Linked DNA regions of Homo sapiens: region 1 is linked to region 2. Evidence: promoter capture Hi-C in human tissues and cell types (Jung and others, 2019). All regions are on one chromosome and are shown on one strand. Each heading gives the region's core, a stretch centred on a gene start or on the middle of the fragment in contact. The rest is flanking DNA. Distances are from core to core; before and after follow the strand shown. Region 1 overlaps DOCK3 (dedicator of cytokinesis 3). Region 2 holds the start of CISH (cytokine inducible SH2 containing protein).

The links. The method cuts DNA at HindIII sites, captures the fragments that hold promoters and counts their contacts. A contact is called where the count stands out against the background at its distance.
Region 1: a fragment that was not itself captured here is called in contact with the fragment with the promoter of CISH in region 2 in 3 of the 25 tissues and cell types used here (dorsolateral prefrontal cortex, heart right ventricle and mesendoderm cells).

Annotation. Positions count from the first base shown.
Region 1 is chr3:51,184,278-51,191,222 of GRCh38, reverse strand. The region is part of intron 12 of DOCK3 (dedicator of cytokinesis 3); the gene reads right to left. Among named protein-coding and RNA genes, the nearest start is that of MANF, 200 kb to the left of the region's middle. The HindIII fragment of the contact is 4,418 bases long and covers 2,609-6,945 here.
Region 2 is chr3:50,608,434-50,615,244 of GRCh38, reverse strand. It overlaps CISH (cytokine inducible SH2 containing protein), which reads left to right and starts at 3,471. Exons shown (of 3, transcript NM_145071.4): 1 at 3,471-3,614; 2 at 6,652-6,811. The coding sequence starts at 3,595. It also overlaps a transcript of MAPKAPK3 not described here. RefSeq lists enhancers at 2,953-3,042, 3,952-4,512 and a silencer at 3,123-3,602. The HindIII fragment of the contact is 7,054 bases long and covers 1-6,386 here.

The DNA.
Region 1 (6,945 bases), core at 3,568-6,067, 570 kb before region 2:
GAGTGCAGGAGCCAGGTGCCCCAGCTTTGTGGGAGTGGACTGGGAGGGGTGTAGCGTGAAAGCCCTGATTGCTGTCTCCACAGGGAAGATTTATAGCCTGGGACAGTTTCGAGTTCTGAGTGTAGACAGCCTGGAACTTAGCTAGCTGCTACTAATGGATCACTGCAGGTATGAGACCTGCCTTGCCAACTATGTAAGAGCTGGGTGGGGCTTACTCTCACCTACTACTTTCCATTCCTTCCGAAATCTCTTCTGTGCAGCAGAGGCAGTGACCTTCCTCCATGGAACATTACCTCAGTGGCCAGTAAACCACCTGCAGAGGTGGTGATCTCCACAGAGATCTCTGTGATCTCCATAGAGGCCAGTGCTTGCCCTGCAAGTGGAGAGCCAGGGTGTGGACCTACCTGACCCAGCTCCCACCTGGCTTTGTCCCTCCACCCACCCTGGTAGCATAACACAAAGAACAGAAACTTTTGGGAGCTCTCTAGCCTCACCCCTCACCTGAGAAACCAGAATACCTCTCCTGGGTAACATAAGGCAAGCACAAATCCCACTGCTACTACAGCAGGTGGTGCTCTTTTCCTAGTGCCATCTCCTAGCTGGGAGGCCAAATGACACAGTTCATTGCAGAATCTGCAGATAGAATAACACTGTGTCCAGAAAGGAGAAAACTTGTATGTTACCTCAGGTATTACCATTGCCTGCACCACCCCGGCTAACCAGGAGGTCCTGAGTCTGTCCCAGTGACCAGTTCATTACTACTATAACTGGCATCTGAGAAAGTCAACACACTAAGGCTATTTATAACCAAGGAATCTCACAGAGTTTACATCACTCCTCTGCCACCCCTATCAGAGCTGGTGCTGATAGCTGCTGGTGGGAGACTTGAGGACAGGTCATATCACTGGATCTCTTGCATAGGTTCACCAGCACCAGCCTGCAGTATGGCAGTCCCACTGGGCAGCTAGACCCAGAGAGCAGTAGCATTCACAGCAATCTAGCTCTAAGGGACTCTTACTCTTATGGAAAGGGGGAGTACATCACATCAAGGGAATACCCTGTGGGACAAAAGAATCCAGATGGCAGGCCTTGAGTCTCAGATCTTTCCAATGGTGGGAAGTTTCCTTCAGCAGAGGCATAGTTGAAGTGCTGGGCTTAGTGGGGAAAGTCTGTGGCTGTACCCCAACAGTCAGAAAGCCTTTGCGCTTGTGAAGCGTCCTGAGAAGGATATATCTTTTCCCCCTCATCACCACTACAGACACATTTGAGGCTTCTCCCATGTGAGCTCGGTGTGAGTGGACCTATTGAAAGCCTTTCTGGAATGTGGTGAAAAGGGAATGCTTATACACTGCTGGTGGGATTAGTACAACTTCTATGGAAAACAGTATGGGGATTTCTTAAAGAACTAAAAGTAGATCTACCATTTCATCAAAAAATTCCACAACTGGGTATTTACCCAGAGGAAAAGAAGTCAATATACCAAAAAGACACTTGCATATGTAAGTTTATTGCAGTACAATTAACAACTGCAAAGATATGGAACCAACCTAAGTGCCCATAAACCAATGAGTGGGTAAAGAAAATGTAGTATATATACACCATGGAATACTACTTGGCTAAAAAAGAAATGAAATAATGTCTTTTGCAGAAACTTGGATAGAGCTAAAGCCCTTATTGTAAGTGAAGTAACTCAGGAATGAGAAACCAAATACTGTATGTTCTTACTTATAAGTGGGACCTAAGCTTTGGTAAGCAAAGGCATAAGGAGTGATATAATGAACTTTAGAGACTCAGAAAGGGGAGGGTGGGAGAGAGATGAGGAATAAAAAATCTACACATTGGATACAATGTACACTACTCGGGTGATGGGTGCACAAAAATCTGACTTCACCACTATACAATTCATCCATGTAACCCAAAACCACCTGTACCCCAAAAGCTATTGAAATAAAAAAAAAATAGTGGGCAAAGAATCTGAACAGAATTTCTCAAAAGAAGACATACAAATGGTCAACAGATAAATGCAAAAATGTTCAACATCACTAATCATCAGGCAAATGTAAATCAAAACCACAATGAGCTATCATCTTATCCCAGTCAGAAAAAGAAAAAAATAACAGATGTTTGCATGGATGCAGAGAAAAGGGAACTCTTATACACTACTGGTGGGAATGTAAACTAGTACAGCCACTATGGAAAACAGTATGGAGATTTCTCAAAAAACTAAAAACAGAATTACCATTTGATCCAGCAATCCCACTACTGACTGTCTACCCAGAGAAAAAGAAATCAATATGTCAAAGGGATATCTGAACTCACATGTTTATTGCAGCACTATTCACAATAGCAAAGATATGGAATCAATCTAAGTGTTCAATGAATGAACAGATAAGAAAAGAAAATGTGATACACACACCCACACCCCCACATCCCCCGACACAAAATACTATTCAGCCATTGAAAAGAATAAAACCATGTTACCTTTAGTAACATGGATGGAACCAGAGGTCATTGTTTTAAATGAAATGAGGCATGAAAAGACATTCTCACTTACATGTGGGAACTAAAACATTTGATCACATGCATGTAGTGAATGGAAAGATAAATAACAGAAGCTGGGAAGAGTGAGTAGCAGGGAGGAAGCTGATGAAGACAACTGGATTAAAGGATACAAACACACAGTAAGGAGGATAAAATTCAATGTTTGAGAGTTGAGTAGATTCACTATATTTAACAAAAATGTATTGTACTTGCGTGGTGGACACCCTAAATACCCTGACTTGACCACTATGCATTATATACATGTAACGAAATCCCTCATGTACCTCATACATTTGTAGAAATAAAATAAAACCTACATCATCTTAAAAAACAATTACTATGTTTAACCTATGCTGTCTTCAGTGAAACCTACTTAAATAAGTAATATTGTTTTAGCCTTACAATGTTTAGCATATTTAATAAACTTCATTTACTCTTAGAATAACATTAATTCTCTGCTTTCCACTTCGTACTAATGTGCCTCCAAGATATGAGGGCATCTCATGAAGAAATTTTAAAAAGTGAAAATAGTTTAAAATACAAATGAGAAAAAAGGAGCACAAAAGACTATGTTGAGCATTTCTCTAGGGAACAGATAAAGAAAGGAAGGCTCCGTTGTTCATCCTGAGTCTAGCTCTTTCCTCTAATAGCTTATAAGTCACTAATGCCCACTCTGCCCACGTTATCTACCACAATCATATTACATGAAGGCACATCTTGAGAAATCATTCTGTACCATAGTCACTGTATTAGTCTGTTTTCACACTGCTGATAAAGACATACCCCAAACTGGGCAATTTACAAAAGAAAGAGGTTAATTGGACTCACAGTTTCATGTGGCTGGGGAGGCCTCACAATCACGGTGGAAGGCAAGAAGGAGCAAGTCATATCTTACAAGTATGGCAGCAGGCAAAAAAAAAAAAAAAAAAAGCTTGTGCAGAGAAACTCCCGTTTTTTAAAACCATCAGATCTCAAGAGACCCATTCATGAGAACAGCACAAGAAAGACCTGCCCCCATGATTCAATCATCTCCCACCGGGTCCCTCCCACAATATGTGGGAATTATGAGAGCTACAAGATGAGATTTGGGTGGGGACACAGAGCCAAACCATATCATTCTACCCTTGGCTCCTCCAAAATCTCATATCTTCACATTTCAAAACCACCCATGCCATCCCAACAGTCCCCCAAAGTCTCAACTCATTTTAGCATTAACTCAAAAGTCCACAGCCCAAGGTCTCATCTCTGCCAAAGCAAGTCCCTTCCACCTATGAGTCTGTAAAATCACAAGCAAGTTAGTCACTTCCTAGATATAATGGGGGTACAGGCTTTGGGTAAATACAGCCATTCCAAATGGTAGACTTTGGCCAAAACAAAGGGGCTACAGGCCCCATGCAAGTCTGAAATCCAGTGAGGCAGTCAAATCTTACAGCTCCAAAATGATCTCCTTTGACTTCATGTCTCACATCCAGGTCACGCTGATGCAAGAGGTAGGTTCCCATAGTCTTGGGCAGCTCCACCCACTGTGGCTTTGCAGGGTATAGCCCCTCTCCTGGCTGCTTTCACAGGCTGGTGTTGAGCATCTGTGGCTTTTCCAGGAGCAGGGTGCAAGCTGTCTGTGGATCTACCATTCTGGGGTCTGGAGGATGGTGGCCCTCTTCTCACAGCTCCACTAGGCAGTGCCTCAGTAGGGACTCTGTGTGGGGGCTCTGAACCTACATTTCCCTTCTGCACTGCCCTAGCAGAGGTTCTCCATGAGAGCCCTGCCCCTGAAGCAAACTTCTGCCTGGGCATCCAGGCATTTCCATACATCCTCTGAAATCCAGGTGGAGGTTCCCAAACCCCAATTCTTGACTTCTGTGCGCTGGCAGGCTCAACACCATGTGGAAGCTGCCAAGGCTTGAGGCTTGCATCCTTTGAAGCCACGGCCCAAGGTTTACATTGGCCCCTTTCAGCCACAGCTGGAGCAGCTGAGATGCAGGGCACCAAGGCTAGGTGCCCTAGGCTGCACACAGTGTGGGGAACCCTGGACCTGGCCCACGAAACCACTTTTTCCTCCTAGGCCTCTAGGCCTGTGATGGGAGGGGCTGCCATGAAGATCTCTGACATGCCCTGGAGACATTTTCCCCATTGTCTTGGGGATTAACATTCAGCTCCTCATTACTTATGCAAATTTATGCAGCCAGCTTGAATTTCTCCTCAGAGAATGTAATTTTCTTTTCTATTGCATTGTTAGGCTGCGAATTTTCCAAGCTTTTGTGCTCTGCTTCCCTTATAAAACTGAATGCCTTTAACAGCACCCAAGTCACATCTTGAATGCTTTGCTGCTTAGAAATTTCCTCCACCAGATACCCTAAATTATCTCTCTCAAGTTCAATGTTCCACAAATCTCTATGACAGGGGCAAAAGGCTGCTGGTCTCTTTGCTAAAACATAACAAAAGTCATCTTTGCTCCAGTTACCAACAAGGTCCTCATTTCCATCTGATACCAACTCAGCCTGGACCTTATTGTCCATATCACTATCAGCATTTTGAGCACAGCCATTCAACAAGTCTACAGGAAGTTTCAAACTTTCCCGCATTTTCCTGTCTTCTTCTGAGCCCTCCAAACTGTTCCTCTGCCTGTTACCCAGTTTCAAAGTTGCTTCCACATTTTTAGGTATCTTTTCAGCAGTGCCCGACTCTACTGGTACCAATTTATTGTATTACTCCATTTTCACACTGCTGACAAAGACATACCCAAAACTAGGCAATATACAAAACAAAGAGGTTTAACTGGACTCACAGTTACACATGGCTGGGGAGGCCTCACAATCATGGTGGAAGGCAAGGAGGAGCAAATCACATCTTACATGTATGCATGTATGCAGCAAGCAAAAAAAAGGGCTTGTGCAGAGAAGTTCCCTTTTTTTAAAACCATCAGATCTCATGAGACCCATTCACTATCATGAGAACAGCATGGGAAAGACCCGCCCCCATGATTCAATTATCTCCCACCAGGTCCCTCCCACAACACATGGGAATTATGGGAGCTACAAGATGAGATTTGGGTGGGGACACAGAGCCAAGCCATATCAGTTACCCTGAGAGAGAGAACATGCAGTTAGCTGACACTTAGAAGCTTTACTATCTTAGAACAAGAAAGCAAAGCCTCAAAATATACAATGGAAACTCTGAACGTACATTTTGTTTGATCTTTACAGAGTTCATTACTTGGTGCTTGCAGGCTACTTATTAAATGCCTACTTGACCATTATATTTAAGAAAGGGACCTCTGCTCCTTAGTACAGAAAGAATGTTGGACATTCTTTTCCTATTTATTTGCACTCTTTATAAGAATTTTAGAGTCACAGAAAAATTGCAAAGATATTATAGAGAGGTCCCACATATCCTGCACCCAATTTCTCCTATTATTAACACTTTATTTTATTGTACATTTGTCATAATTAATGAACCAATACTGATAATTTACTATTAGTTAAGTCCATACTTTATTCAAATTTTTCAGATTTTCTTAGTTTTAACCTAGTATCTTTTTTCTGCTCCAAGATCTCATCCAGGTACCATATTACATTGAGGTATCATGTCTCGTTAGGTTTCTCTTGACTGTGACAGTTTCTCAAACTTTTCTCATTTTAGGTAAAATTGACAGTTTTGAGAAGTAATAATCAGGTATTTTGTAGAGTTTTCAGGTGGGATTGTTCCCATATTTTTTCCATGATTAGAAGTAATGTGTTTTGAGGAGGAAGATCACAGAGATGAAGTCTCAGTCTCATCATATCATATCAAGGGTACATACTATCAGCATGACTTTTGCCTGCTGATGTTATCCCTGATTATCTGGTTGAAGTAGTGCTTGTCAGGTTTCTTCACTGTAGTTTCCCTCAGCCCCCTTTCCACATTGTTATTTTTAGAAAGAGTTCAGTACGCACATCTCACACTTAAGGAGTGGGGAATTATGCTCCACCTCCTTGATGGCTGAGTATCTATATGCATACGTTACTTGAAATTCTTCTACATAAGAGATTTGTTTCTTCTCCCTCAGTTATTTATTCCATCATATTTATTCAAGTATCAACTCACGGATATTTATCTTATACTTTGGGTTAAAATTCAGTAACTTTTTTTTTTTTGGCTAAAATTGTTCCAATTTTGGCCATTGGAAGTTCTTTCAGTTAGCTTCAATGTTCCTTTGATATACTCCCACCACTGTGGATCTTCTAAAATTTTAAAAAAATTTTGAGCATGTCTTTGCTTTCTGGCACTTTCTGCTTCAGGATCATTTTGTATATTACCTACTCTAGTCCTAGACTCAGCCATTTATCTAAAGAGCCCTGGTTTTTTTTCTTTCTTTTTTTTTTTTTTGTTTCAAAGCAGACTTTTGCTCTTGTTGCCCAGGCTGGA
Region 2 (6,811 bases), core at 2,222-4,721:
CAGAGCCTCTTTGAAAGCCCTATGATCTGGAATCTTCTACTGCTGGGGGGAGCCAAAGAAGGCTCTCTGCTCTCTGAAGGCAACTAGTTTGAGCCTGGTGAACCTGAGGCTGAGCAAGATGTCATTCTGGTGAGCAGAAGGCTAGGCAGCTGAGGGTGGAGGCTGGCTCCTTGCCCCAGCCAAAGGCATCCCACTGAATGTTCTGTGAAGATGTCTTCTTTCTTTAAAATGGAATTAGATTATAATTGCTCTACAAATTTTATAATTGTATTTTTTAAGCTGGTCTCTTTTATTAAAATTTTAAGTTGCATAAGTAAAACTTCCTCATTGTAATTAATTCAAATTATACAGAAGTATGAAAAGTAAGGCAAAGGTGCTGCTTCTCCCCTCCCAGTCCCTATAACCAGTGTCCATGCTTCCACAGGCACACGCATTCCCCACATGGGTCCATCGGAGAGATGCCTTGAAACTACTCACTTAGCCCAGGAAAGTCAGAATATGTGGTTTCCCTTAGTGCTCATGTTCCAGCAACCACCTGCAGCATCCCCTCCACAATGATGGGAGGATTTGGCATGCAGGATGGCTAGGTCTGGTCAGGAGTGGGTTCATGATGGCAGACTCTGCCACACAGCCCTTCATGTAGCTGTGTGTCCAAGGGGACAGAGACTTTGGAATAGCTTAAAGTGAGGGGGGCTAAATCCTACACACACACACACACACACACACACACACACACACACACACTCTGTCCTTACTGGAGAGGGGAGGCTGTACATGGTGAGAGGATGGAGGCCAAATGAGCGAGACTTTTGGGAAGGCACTGCTGTGTATTCTTGTGATTCATCTTGTGATTGTTCTGGGTAGGGAGTGGCAGGGGAATCTTGCAGTAAGTTCAATCCCTGGGGTGCAGGAGAGGGATTATCCTAGAAGAGAAGAATCTATGGAAATTTGGCTAGTGAGGGCATGAGAGGGGGCACCGCTAGGTGGCAGTGTGGGCCCAGCAATCAGAGCCAGGGTTTCTAGGGAGCAGCCAGGGCAGGAGAATTAAGTACTAAGTTGGCCAGAGGGACCCAACTTAGTACTTGGGGCAGAACAGGGGCACATCACTGTTCCCAGCATGCAGGTGAGGTGCACAGTGCTGTCATATTCACACACACACAAAAATAGTTGGAAGGCCAAAACCCTTGGAACCCTTTGGTTTACACATAGACTGCATAATCACTGACCTGTAGGAGATACTTTCAAAGGGACACCCATGGTGCTCTGACATGGACAGGCCTGGGGGCAGAGAAGCTTCACTGAGGACCTTAAAGCTGGATGTCTAGGAGTCGGCAGATCACCAGCACCCATAGAGGAAGTAGGAGGAAGTGTGTAGGCTCCTGGCTTAAACCATTACTTGCCAGCTGGGAGATCTAAGTTATATTGTAACCTCTCCATGCCTCAGTTTTCTCACCTGTAAAGAGGAGATAATATGTGGTAGTTGTGACAATGACATGAGGCTGCAAATTGCTGAGAGTGCTTGACACATAGTAAGTGTTCAGTTGAATAGTCATGGTGAGGGGGAAGAAGTATAGTTTTGGTAGAGAGCTTGGGATTTGGCCCCATAAGAGACCCAAGTTCAAAATTGTAACTCTGTTGCCTGGCAGCGGCAAAGTCCTTTTGTCTTCATAGTAATGAGACAGTGGACAGTTCCTACTGGCAAGTCAGTGGTCCACACAGGGGCCGCATATCAGGCTATCCAGGTATCCCAGCCCTCAAAGTGGGTTATAAGGTATCCATCCCCCCTACCCCCATTCCAAGAAAGTGGCTTCTGGCCAACTCAGGAGGGGGCTGGCAGAGTTGCACTCATGAAGCCCGGCTTCCCTTCAGGAAAGCTACAGAGAAGTGACTGCCCTGAAATCTGAAACTTAACGTTTTTTCCCCAGTTTCACAGGGTTTTGCTTTCAGGTTTCTTTTGCCCTCTGCCATTCTGGGCAGAGCAAACTGAGCCCTGTCTTCCCTGGATGCTATCGTTCAGGCCCTTCAACAAGGCCAGGGGTCTGTCATCCCTGCCCAGGATCTCAGAGCTAGACTCCTTTCTGGGGACCCTGGGGGCACACACTGGGAGGGGGATGGGGGTGGGGAGTGGACCCTGCAACCTCTCCAAATCCCACAGTTCTTCTGGCCCAAGGGTTTGGAGGAGATTCACAGACCCTACAGTCCTTCAAGATGCTCCATAGTGAATCCAGTGAACTGAAAAAAGGTGGAGAGGGTCCTGGTAGGAGCGTGGGCTTCTGATTCAGAGCTGGGACCAAGCTCTTACCCTGCCATTTCCTAGCATTTGTTCCCTGGGGCTGTCTTCTGTCCGCATAACGGGAGCAACACCAGTTGTAGAGGATCAAATGCAGCAAGTACTCCCTGTAGATAAGAGCGAGTGTTACTACTCTGCCCCCGCCATCCCGCCCCAACCTCTATCACCCTACTCCCAGATTATCTCCCTATGTTTTGAGTTGCAGGACTCTCTCTCAGCATTTTTTTTCTGGCGGGGGGTGGGGGTGGTACCAACCCAGAGTCCGGGCCATCTGGGGCTGTCTCTGCTTGCTTTCTCAAATCTGTAGTCTCTTCTCCCCTGACTGGCAGGGCCGGCCAGAAACCAGTGCCAGCCAAGACTGGATGGTCTGCCTGATTCGAAAAGTTGGGGCGTGCTTTCTCCTTCAACTCTTTCAAAGAAAACGTTCTTGTCTGGATCTTTCTGGCTGTGGTGACCGCCGGCTTGACCTCAGTGGACCCACTCATTTCTGGAACTGTCCTCTGCACCCCGCCCTGCCCTAAGTCCCGCTCCAGATCTCACCCCATGCCACCCAATCCGACACCCGACACACAGAGTCCTAGGGTCCAGGAGCGGCCGTCCCAACACGGGGCGCTTGCACACGCCGACAGACCTCCTTGGAGGAGCCGCTCGCAGGGAGGACAAGCCCGGGACTCCGCCCCCCGCCCTGCCACGAGTTCCACCGCGAGATAAGAGGGCCCTTCCCCAACGACGCAGAATGCCAGAAGGCAATCTGGGCGCGGGTTGCTGAGCCCGGGCCCCTCCTTAACTTCCCCGACCCGGTCTTTCCCCACTGATCTCTCCGACCTGCCCCTCTGGGTAGCTTCAGCCCCGGGTCCACGCGCTGCTATTGGCCCTCCCCGACCGCTCGGCTCCACCTTCAGCGTCGCGATTGGTCAGCTCGCGGGGCCCCGCCCCGTTTTCCTGGAAAGTTCTTGGAAATCTGTCAAAGTATTTCCTTTCACTGCTCAGGGCCCCAGACCCGGCGACGGGGCCCGCGCACCCCGCCCGGGCCCCACCGCTCAGCCCGCGGTTCTAGGAAGACGCTGCTTCCGGGAAGGGCTGGAACGCGGCAGACAAAGGATTAGGCAGCAGCTCGCCCCGCCCCGCTCGTCTGGCCCGCCCCCCTCGCCCTCGCAGGCGGTCCGCGCCACTGCCTCTCAGTCCCTGTCCTGCGCCCGCGCGCCCCGGGAGCCTACCCAGCACGCGCTCCGCGCCCACTGGTTCCCTCCAGCCGCCGCCGTCCAGCCGAGTCCCCACTCCGGAGTCGCCGCTGCCGCGGGGACATGGTCCTCTGCGTTCAGGGGTAAGCGCGGCTCTCTGCCCCCTTCCCGGCCACCACGAGGGGCGCACGGGAGAACAGGGGCTTCGTGCTAGCTGCCGGGCATTGGGAGGGCTTGACGGGCCAGAGGTGACTGAGCGCAGACGGACCTCAGGAGCAAGGCTCTGTGTGGGGCTGTGACACTCCCACTCCCCGCCCCCACACACTTACCTCAATTCCCACTGTGGATTGGGAAACCGGGGGCTGGCCGGCTAAAGGAGGAACTCACAGGGTGGGCTCAGCCTGGGTTCTCATTGGAGCAGATGGATGCTAACGGCACGGCGTCCCCCAAGATGTGGCCAACAATCCCAGATATTCTTCTGGGCCCAGAGCACTCTACGCTAGCCTGCCTGCTGCCCTGCCTGCTAGTAACCTTGGACCAGCCCCTGGCCCCCTCTGTCCTGGTGTCCCCTCTCCTGCCCCAGGCTAGCAAGTAGGCTCTTCTTGGGAAGCCAGCCGCAGATCCTTGCCTTTCCTCAGGCTGGCACCTGATGGTCTGCAACTCTCGGGAGGCCCTGGGTTTGGCCTGGTCCTGCTTGGGGTACCCCCACAATCGTCTCACAACCCTGTCTCAGCCCAGTCTGGGATCCCAATGTGAGAAGGACCTTGGCTCCTGCCTCTCATCTTCAAATTTCCCAGACTTGAGGTAAGGGACAGTGGAGAGGGGATGCTGATAAGACAGAGTCTTGACCTGAGCTGAGCATTCCTGGCCATCCACTCTGTCCTGAACCTCAGCAACCCCTTCAACCAAAGGGTCTGATGCTGGCCATGGTGATGTGACAGGAGCTCAGGAAGCTCCAAGGAGAGAGGAAGAAGGTATAAATGGGTGTTCTGCACTCAGGGAGGACTGGGTGGCTGTGCTTATCGCAACTGGCCTGGTGCCAAGTGAGGGAGGGTGGAAGGTGAGGCCAAGGAAGAGGACATGGAGGTGCTGGGAAGACTACTTCTCCCTTGCTGTCTCCAGCAAGTTCCTTCCTCCTGTCTGCATTCTGGGACTCCTGAATACCTGCCCCACCACTGCCTTCCACCCCAGGAGCCTCCCCCTGCATTCCGGGGTCCCATAGCCTCTTTCACTTTTTACCCTAGGTGAGCACCCCCTTGTAAGCTCAGGGCTACTGTTGGGTGTCAGGGAACAAAGTTTTAGACTGCTGCGCTCCAAAGCGGGCACACACATGTACCTAGAACACACCAGCCACTGTCCCCACCATGATGATGACACAGCCATGGACACACCCCTGCCCAGGTACACACTCACCAGGAGCTTGTGGTGATCAACACAGCTATTCATACACCCAGCTACCACATCAGCCCCAAAGGTGCCCACACCTACATGTGGGATCTGAGGACCGGCTAAGCTATCTGGACGTGGCCACCCACAGAGGTTCCAGCCTGACTGGCTAGCCACCAACCATGCTCCTGGGAAGGTAGCTCTGGGCCCCAGCAAGCAGGTCATCTCAAAATTTGGCCTCCAGCTCTCCAAGAGGGATTTCCAAGATCCCACAGTACAGCCAGGGTAGGTGTGGAAAAGTTTTTGTCAGGCTGTGGTGTGCCAGAGTTGTGTGGCCCTTTCTCACTGTGAGTGGTCATAGGGCCATGATTTGTTAGAACCTAGAGGGTCACCTATAACCTACACAGGAGTCAGGTCTGGCTCCTGCCACCAGCTCCTGCCTGCGCCTTCCTGCCTCACAAGCAATACTGGCGCTGTTTGCCCATGCTGTCCTCTCTACCTGGGGTCCCTTCCCCCAGCTCCTTCCTTTGGCCTGGAAGACACAGCTCAGGAGCAAGCAGACCCTGACTCCCCCGTGACACCTGCAGTTTTATGACTTTGCATTATAATTACTCTTAGTGTCATCTTCCCCAGCCAGTCTGGTTCTCCTTGAGGGCAAGGCCATGGTTTCATTATGGCGGTGTCCTGAGGCCCAGCCAGGGACTAGACCCAGAACTAAGGCTTGGAGATGTATTTTGCAAGGAGTGAGGGAGGAGCAGCTGTCTTCCTGGGGAAGTAGAGCCAGTCCCTGCTGCCCTCCCAAGGAGGAAGCCCTAGTATCACCCTGCTGGGTGGGCTTCCCCTAGGAGAAAGCTGCTACTCAGATTTTGGTCGGCTCAGTTCCCCCAACCCCAGCCATCCAAGAATATGGTGTTACTGAACCTCTCAGTGCATGGGTTGGTGGGACCCTTTATTGCGGAAAAGGGAAACTGAAGCCCAGTGAAGAGCAAGCTTTGTACAAGATCGTAGAGCCTGGTAGGGCTGGCTTGCCAGGGTGGGAACTGGAGTGTGGATTAGGTCCCTGCCCTTGGTGGGAGCTCATACTGACAGGAGGTGAGACTTGCCAGTGCCTTTAGAGGCCACTGTCCACCCCAGACCCTCCACTGGGAGAAGCAGAGGCCAGGATAGGCTGACTTGTATGGGTAGGGGATTATTTCAGTCTCTAAGTCCTGGCCAGTGTGGACCTAGGTCCCTCTGAGAGACACTCCTATCCATGGGGAGGTAGCGTGTGACCTCAGGCAGCCTACCATAATCCTGGGGCTTCTCTGGAGGACCCCACACAGATCTATCATAGGATAAATCTACTTGTCTGTCGTAGATCTATCTCAACTAGGACCATTCATCAGTGGGCCATTTAATCAGCCCACTTCAGCCAGGAGGGCACAAACATGAAGCTACTTTGCACTGAATCCTATCAGTGTGGTGAGAACATTAGACATGCCTATAGGGAATGATCTGTGTTTTTGGTTGATATAAAATAGAGAGCAATTAATTACTGTTTAGTAAATGCAGGGCAGTGGAAAAGAATCTTTCAAAAGAGGATCCCCACATGGAAACAATCAAGGTGGCTTTTGTGATGACAAGTGGGGAACGAGATACTGGACTAACTGAGCCCATGGCTGGGTAGAGGGGAAGCTGAGGCTCATAGTGAGATGGGCCAGCCAGAGGTCATGAAACTAGTCTGGGGCATAGGGGGGTCTCTGGAGATGGGGGAAGCATGGGTCCTCCACTCACTGCTCATCCACTGCCTTCTAGACCTCGTCCTTTGCTGGCTGTGGAGCGGACTGGGCAGCGGCCCCTGTGGGCCCCGTCCCTGGAACTGCCCAAGCCAGTCATGCAGCCCTTGCCTGCTGGGGCCTTCCTCGAGGAGGTGGCAGAGGGTACCCCAGCCCAGACAGAGAGTGAGCCAAAGGTG